3 separate regions of the Homo sapiens genome follow, and all the other regions are linked to region 2. The links are contacts of gene promoters, found by promoter capture Hi-C in blood cells and fetal thymus (Javierre and others, 2016). All regions are on one chromosome and are shown on one strand. The core of a region is centred on a gene start or on the middle of the fragment in contact, and the rest is flanking DNA. Distances in the headings are between cores, read along the strand shown. Region 1 overlaps TAF4B (TATA-box binding protein associated factor 4b). Region 2 holds the start of TAF4B (TATA-box binding protein associated factor 4b). Region 3 overlaps PSMA8 (proteasome 20S subunit alpha 8).

Region 1 (2,700 bases), core at 103-2,602, 98 kb after region 2:
AAAGCGAATGGTGTGTTGATTTTGTTGAGCTTTTCAAATAACCAACTTTTGGTTTTATTAATTTTCTGTTTTTCTATTTTTGATTTCGTGTATCTCCACTCTAGTTTTTATATTATTTTCCTTCTAAGCTTCAGGCTTAGTTTGCTCTTCTTTTTTTTTAGTTTCATAAGATGTAAAGTTAGGTTTTTTATTTGAGATCTTCCTTTTATAATGTAGGCGTTTACTACTATACATTTCCCTCTGAGTACTGCTTTCACTGCATTCCATAAGTTTTGGTATGTTGTGTTGTCGTTTTCATTTATCTTTAAATATTTTCTCATTTCTTTTGAGATTTATTTGATTCTTTGTGACTGTAGAGTATGTTGTTTAATTTCCAAATATGTGGGAATTTTCCAGTTTTCCTTTTGTTGTTGGTTTCTAGCTGTATTCCGTTGTGGTCAGAGAAGATACTTTGTATGAATCATTCATTTAAAATGTACTGAGGCTTGTTTTATGACTTAACATACATTGTATCCTGGAAAATGTTTCATGTGCACTTGAGAAGAATGTGTGTTCTGCTCTTGTTTCATAGATGTCTGATAGATATAGTTGGTTTATAATGTTAAGTCCTCTGTTTCCTTATTGATCATCCATCTGGATGTTCTATTCATTATTGAAAGTGCAGTATTAAAATCTTCAACTATTGTGGAGCTCTATTTTTCTTTTTGTTTTAGAGACAGGGTCTCACTCTGTCATCCAGGCTGGAGTGCAGTGGTGCAATCATAGCTCATTGCAACCTTGAACTCCTGGACTCAAGCACCCTCCCACCTCAAGCCACCCTCCCACCTCAGCCTTTCCAGTAGCTAAGACTAACAGGCGTGTGCCACCACACCCAACTAATTTTTTTTTTTTTTTTTTTGAGACAGGGGCTCACTATGTTGCCCATGCTGTGGAATTGTTTTTTAAACAAAATTCTGTCAATGTTTGTTTGCTTCATATATTTGAGAAGTCTGGTTTGATGTGTATATCTTCTTGATGAATTGACCTTTTTATCAATATATAATAATGTCCTTGTTTGTCTCTTTTAAGGGTTTTGTACTTAAAGTCTATACTGTCTGATATTACTTTCTTTTGTTTGTTACTTGCATGGAATATCTTTTTCCATCCTTTCACTTTCAGCGTATTGGTATGGTTTCAACTAAAGTATAGACAGCATATAATTTGATCATTTTTTAAAATTCATTCTGCTAGTCTCTTTGAAGAGCTTACTCCATTTACATTTAAAATGTAATTACTGATAAATAACTTCTATTTTGCTATTTCTTTTCTGTATGCCTTATAAGTTTTGTGTTCCTCACTTCCTCTGCTTCTTATGTTTAATTGTTTTTGTTTTGTTCCATTTTGATCCCCTTCTCATTTCGTTTTGGATATATTTAGATATCTTCTTAGCAGTTACCATAGAGATTACAATTAACATCCTAAATCTACAATCTAGTTTGGATTGTTATCAGCTTACTTTTAATTTTGTGATGTGGGAAAATTATAGACATATTTTTGGCTTTTTACTATAACTCTTTAAAGTATCTTACAGTTTTTCAAACTTAGATTCTCCCTACTTCTGCCTTAATCACACTGTTGTTTCAGAGATACATGAATACCTTTTTTAGTAGAGATAGGGTTTCGCCATGTTGGCCAGGCTGGTCTCAAACTCCTGGCCTCAAGCAATCCACCCGCCTCGGCCTCCCAAAGTGTTGGGATTACAAGTGTGAGTCACCATGCCTGGCCACGTGAGTACATCTTGATTTATAGTAGGCAGTTTCTGTATAAAACATAATAAGTATAATTTACAATGGAATAGAATTTTTAAAGTAATATTTATTGAATGGCATTCAAAGCTCTATTGTGTATAGCTTTCAGCTGGAATTCTTTTGTTGTATATCAGTAGCGTATTTCCAAACATTTAGTTGCACTAGGCAAAATGGATGGTATCTCCCCCACCTAGAAGACCTCACTAAGTTAGCTTGAAGCTAACACTTCCTTAACCTGCTGTCTTGTATACTACCTATTCTGACTGATTTTCCCGAGCTTTCCTTTTCCTACACTCATTTGTTAATACAGCTAATGCCACTGTCTACATTTGCGTATATATAAAATAACAAAAGATTATCAGCCCTTTTAAGTCAAAATAATTATCATTTGGTTATATTTGGATTCAGTTTGAAATCACCATTATTTTGTAGACTTTGTTTGTAATAATCTTTATGTCACAGCTTTAGCCCTGTCCTTATATTTCAGTTCATCCCTGATAGGATTTATTTTTATCTGTACAGTGTAGGAAATTCTACTCCATAGATTTTATAAAAGTGAGTTACTCTTTTTAAAAAAGTGAAATCCCCCCATCTCTTTCCACTCTTGAACATCCATTTACTTTTGATAATCTTTCACCTGGTTTGATATAATTCTTTAATCATTAGTCATAAACTGAGATCTAAGTAAATAAGTAGAAAGTGACATGTAGTACAGAGCTTTTGATCTGGCTACCAGGTGTTTTCCCACTGAAGATATGTTATAGTCGCCTATATGACTATGGCCCTGAAGAAGCTTCATTCAGTGTTTTCCAGTTGAAAGGTGCTATTTGGGTTGCTTTAGATGGGATTCATTTGATGGTGTTGATATCATTTGGTCTGGGTCATTACATTTTCTTGGCTAAACCATTTAATA
Region 2 (2,700 bases), core at 17-2,516:
CAAGTTAACATATTCATCACTTTAACATGATTTGTCCTGAATGGAATCCCATTCATGAGGGCTCCACCCTTATGATCTAATCACCTTTCAAAGGCCCAACCTTCTAATATTATCAACTCCAGCTTTAGCATTTTAACACTCAGTTGGGGGTATAATCCTAGCACTTTGGGAGGCCCAGGCGGGAGCTCAGGAATTGGAGACCAGCCTGGACAATATAACGAGATCCCGTTTTTGCTAGGCATAGTGCCGCTCCCCTGTGGTTCCAGCTACTCGGGAATCTGAGGTAGGAGGGTAGGATGATCACTTGAGCCCAGGAGGTGGAGGCTGCAATGAGCCAATGGTGCCACTGCACTCCAGCCTGGGTGACAGAGTTAGATCCTGTTTCCAAAACAAAACAAAACAAAACAAAACAAAACAAAACACCACAACATTCAGATCATAGCATCTGCCTACTTGTAAAATCGCCTTTCAGTGCAGTGTTGGTTCCTACAAACATACAATATAATGACTTTAGCTTGAAATTAAGGCATCTTCTCTGACTGCATTACAAACAGGCAAGTTTTTTCATATCGATTCACTCAACACCTTTTATTTATCCAGATAATATCTAGGATCACGCTTAATATCTAAGTGCTAGAATCTAATTATATAGATATCAAAAGGCATTAAGTTTTTCAGAAGACAGACATACAATTTTAATGTTTAGAGGTGATAGAGACACCTATAGCAGCACCAAAGAAGAAACGATTTTCCATTTAAGATTTTAGGCAGTTTAACTCTAAAATATGAAAATAGGCACATCTCACAGACTATAAAACTATACGCCATTTTAATTTTTACAATGTCAATTCTAACTGCGAATTTTAGCAACGCTTCAGTGTGAAGACAGCAGAGAAAAACACTGAAAATGCGTGATTGAATTCTTATTGAGTCACTCTTCTCGGAAATCAGTCCTCCCCATTTTCTCCTTAAAAAATAGAATCCTGGAGATAGTCTAGTGCTGGCTTTTCGAGGAACACACTACAGGGGACACAAGGAGAGGAACACGGATGCCGCAGTTTTCCAAGTGCAGCTTGCCCCTCCCACGTGATAGGTTTCTGGCATCGCCCCTCCTTGCTGGCGATTCTGGGGAAGATTTTAACGCTCCCTGGAGCCGTCCCCAGTGACGTCACGGGCGCGGCTCCGCTCCTTGGCCAATCACGCGGCCGGATCCCGGGGAAACCCGGGGCGGTGGCGGCGGCCTGGGCGCGTGCGCGAGGTCTCCGCGTGGCTATATAAACATGGCTGGCGTGGCCGCGCGGCGGGGCCGTGCCAATCGCGCGTAGGGGGCTGTGGGCACTCGGGGTTCGTAGTTTTGAAATTTCTGGCGGGGGAGCAGCTGCGCAGTTAGGCTCGAGGTGTGAGCGACGACCTTCCGGGAGCCGCAAGTCCAGGCTCCCCCGCAGCGGGACCCGAGCCTGAGGCGCAGGGCTGAGGCAGCGCACGTGTGAGCGCCGCTGAGGAAGCTGCGAGAGGTCGGGCGGGTGTCGCTCCGGGGGCAGCCCAGGCTCGCGCGGACGAGAGGAAGGTCCGGGACGCGCGTGTCCTGCCGTGCAGCGGGCGCCCGTCACTGACTTCGCTGCTGCGGCCCCCGCGCCTCTCCCCAGCGATGCTGTGGAACCCGAACCGCACCGGAGTCGGCTGCCGCGCGCCAAGCCTCCCCTCACCTCTGCTCCCGGAACCGCAGCGCCAAAGCTGCCGCTGAGCCCCTGGGGGATGCCCGCCGGCCTCACCGAACCCGCCGGCGCCGCTCCCCCGGCTGCTGTGAGCGCCTCGGGGACCGTGACCATGGCCCCGGCCGGGGCGCTGCCGGTGCGGGTGGAGAGCACTCCGGTGGCCCTGGGCGCCGTGACTAAGGCTCCTGTCAGCGTCTGCGTGGAGCCCACGGCGTCCCAGCCCCTGCGGTCCCCCGTGGGGACCCTGGTGACCAAAGTGGCTCCGGTCAGCGCCCCTCCTAAAGTCAGCAGCGGCCCTAGGCTGCCTGCTCCTCAGATAGTCGCCGTGAAAGCCCCCAACACCACGACAATCCAGTTTCCTGCTAATTTGCAGCTTCCTCCAGGTATGTTGATAACCCTTTCCAGCCTTGTCTGTCGGTCCAGCTGGCGGCGACGGGAAAATTCGCAGCTCCAGATTGCTCCTAAAAAAACTGAGCCACGGGAACATTTCATAATCTTGACTTTACAGTTAACATATTCTTTTTGTGTCATTACTACATAGTTTTTCTTTTCATATTTAAGGAAAGAATCTTTTCACCTAAGTGATACAGTAAAAAGCTACATCAGCGTATTCGGGGGGGCTTTCAGGCACTGGCTCTTAGGTGGAGGAGATAATATAGCCGAAGTTAATTTCCATGTGGAGGATGGACCGGTTTATACCGTGGATTTCCATACGCTTAGATTATGTAGAAGTGCGTTGTACTTATTTTATTAATTATGAATGAATGAATGAACGAATGAGGTATGGTTTCGCTCTGTCGCCCAGTCTGGAGTGCAGTGACACGATCATGGCTCACCGACGTCGAACTCCTGGGCCCAATCGATCCTCCCGCCTCGGCCTCCCAAAGTGCTGGGATTACAGGCGTGAGCCACCGCGTACGGCCTAACAGTGAAGTTCTTGTGTATTACAACTGAAAGAGATTTTTAAATTTAACCAAGTCAGAAT
Region 3 (2,700 bases), core at 17-2,516, 91 kb before region 2:
CTTCATGTTGGGAACTGTTTTTTAATAACAGTTACAATAAAAAATAAAAGTTGGCCACACCTGCTCCCCAAATACGGACTAAATCAATATAAAATTAAACTTTTGTTGATGAAGAAATGATTAAAAACACAGTTCAAACACACGCGTTAAAAATATCCCAAAATTGCTGGGCGCAGTGGCTCACACCTGTAATCCCAGCACTTTGGAAGGCCCAGGAGGGCGGATCACCTGAGGTCGGGAGTTTGAGACCAGCCTGACCAACATGGAGAAACTCCGTCTCTACTAAAAATACAAAATTAGCCAGGCGTGGTGGCGCATGCCTGTAATCCCAGCTACTCGGGAGGCTGAGGCGGGAGAATCGCTTGAACCTGGGAGGCAGAGGTTGCGGTGAGCCGAGATCGTGCCATTGCACTCCAGCCTGGGCAACAAAAGCGAAACTCCGTCTCGGGAAAAAAAAAAAAAATCCCAAAATTGTCCCAATATTTCCCAGCCTTGTAGAGGCTCAAAAGTCCAAGAACTTCCACTTTTTTGGCCACTTAAAAAATAATGCTGGAAGTTCCTTGAGAGATTACACCCTACCTTAGATTTATGTATCCACATTACTGAAAAACTTAAAAAATACTCAGGGTAGGAGTAATACTGCTGCCAAGTTTTAACTACGTTCAATAATTTTAGTGATTTATAAAAATTAAAGAGGACAAAAGTGCCCTAGTGACACAAGATCTATTACCCCAAATCTTCTAAGGCCTAGCCTATGAATTCAAAGGATCGGATATTTTTATTCTCTCAATTTCATGAGCATGTTTGTTGTGTACTTTGGAAATTGAGACAGTAGCTATGAGAATACACAGTACGTTTCTAAGTCTAGCAGTGTCTATATTTTCTGACTTTCTTTGTTAAAGAAGGAAATAATTCACTTTCATTATAAATCTAACAGATGTAAGTGGTAAAAAAAAAACACTAGAAGAAGAATCGTTTTAAAAGTATTTTTCTATTTAATTGGGCCCACTAGTTTTGCTTCTGTTTTGCAAGTAATTTTTTTAGAATTATAAATTTAAGGAAAGCCTGATGTAGCTTAAACCAAAAGGGTACCATTTTGATAAAAACAAAAAGTTATATAATCCCCAGCATAGCATGTAGCATATGGTTAGAAACTAATGGCCAAGTTTTAGAGCCTAAAATAAAGGGAGTAATAGGAGAAGACTAGGGTGTAATAAGAAACCACATTGGCTCATTTAACATGTTTTAAGAGTGCTGTAGAACTGATTGATGGTTCCTTTGTAATAAGCGGTAAAAGGGTAAGGATATAAAAATACCTATAGTGGGCATTTTTAAAGATACATTGGAAGAATGAGACACTTTTGTCTCAGAATTCTGAAATTATAATTTGCATGTTTGCATGGAGTTATTCATTGTGTTTCCTTGAGGGTGCTGTGACCTTTTACATAGGGTAAAGTTTTTTAATGGCACTTGATTATTAAAATATGTCACAAAATATTCTGTCTAGAAGTGAAAATTGATATTATGAGTTACAAATAAGCCAAGGTTGACCAGTTTTGACCAGTATGTAGATGTGATACTATTTAGTAATATAAAAATTATATGGGCCACAATTAAAGGCTTTGTGTTCTACTTCCTTGTTGATGATTATCTTATAGCATGAAAGGAGACAAGAGGCTTGTTTTCTTTTTGCTTCAGTTCCCTTTTCTGTAAATGCAAATTTGTTTAAATAACATTTTGGAGAAGTAATACCTTTCTTCTTAGGGAAAAGAAATGAATCCTTCACAATATTCCCATGAAAACGATAAGATTTATTATCATTCCTCATTTTGTCCTTTCTGTGACCCCAAACTGTTATTAGCTCTGTATTTCCTACTTTATCAAATCTCAGCTCCACAATGTAGCCATCAAAGTCTTCCATAATCCTATCCACCCTCTTAATTTAGGAGGCAGCTTCTTGGTTTCACTAATATGTGTTTCTGCCTACAGAAAGGGGAGAGAGGAAAGGGGAAAACACCTTTCTTTCTGCTGCTCTGCATCTTATTTATCCTTTAACAATCTCTGCACACTTGTCCTCTATAATGAAGCCTTCTCTGATCCACTCCAGTCATCTTGGATCTTTGTCTTTTCTGAATTTATAATCTGTACCACAGAATATTGTACAGTATTTACTATTTGACCTGATATTTTCTTTAATTTCAGGTATATTTAATAATCTCACACCAACTGGATAGTAAGATCTCTGAGGATCTAGATGGTATAATTCATTTTTCTATTTCTACTGCACAATATACAGTAGAGGGGCTAGGAAGGCAGTAACTAACATTTAAGAAATACTTTAACCAGGCATTTTGTGTATATTATCTAACATTAGGGACAGTGTTTAATCCCCTTTTATTATGTGTGAAACTGTGATTCAGAAGCATTTATAGCTTGCTGAAAGTACCCAGCTGGAGAGTGATGGAACCCATATTTATAATTATTTTTTTCTAGTTCTAAAGCCCCTGCTCCTTGCATTGTAGCATGAAATTTGTTCAATAAATGTTTGTATATTAATTAGCTTCCATTATCATGAATGTAGAAATCAGATATGTATCACTTAAGGCAATTAACTTCACTAAGCTTCAGTTTCTGTAATAGTAAAAGAGGCATCAAAATAGCACTTGTGGCTGGGCGTGGTGGCTGATGCCTGTAATGCTA

What was found. The method cuts DNA at HindIII sites, captures the fragments that hold promoters and counts their contacts. A CHiCAGO score of 5 or more calls a contact.
Region 1: a fragment that was not itself captured here is called in contact with the fragment with the promoter of TAF4B in region 2 in 1 of 17 cell types (activated CD4 T cells); the score reaches 7.3 in activated CD4 T cells.
Region 3: a contact is called between a fragment that was not itself captured here and the fragment with the promoter of TAF4B in region 2, in 2 of 17 cell types (activated CD4 T cells and total CD4 T cells). The highest score is 6.2, in activated CD4 T cells.

Annotation. Positions count from the first base shown.
Region 1 is chr18:26,322,648-26,325,347 of GRCh38, forward strand. The region is part of intron 11 of TAF4B (TATA-box binding protein associated factor 4b); the gene reads left to right. Among named protein-coding and RNA genes, the nearest start is that of TAF4B, 98 kb to the left of the region's middle. The HindIII fragment of the contact is 2,452 bases long and covers 127-2,578 here.
Region 2 is chr18:26,225,179-26,227,878 of GRCh38, forward strand. It overlaps TAF4B (TATA-box binding protein associated factor 4b), which reads left to right and starts at 1,267. Exons shown (of 15, transcript NM_005640.3): 1 at 1,267-2,098. The coding sequence starts at 1,756. RefSeq lists enhancers at 897-966, 997-1,096 and a silencer at 1,747-1,906. The HindIII fragment of the contact is 8,704 bases long and covers 1-2,700 here.
Region 3 is chr18:26,134,509-26,137,208 of GRCh38, forward strand. The region is part of intron 1 of PSMA8 (proteasome 20S subunit alpha 8); the gene reads left to right. Among named protein-coding and RNA genes, the nearest start is that of PSMA8, 2.0 kb to the left of the region's middle. The HindIII fragment of the contact is 2,707 bases long and covers 1-2,620 here.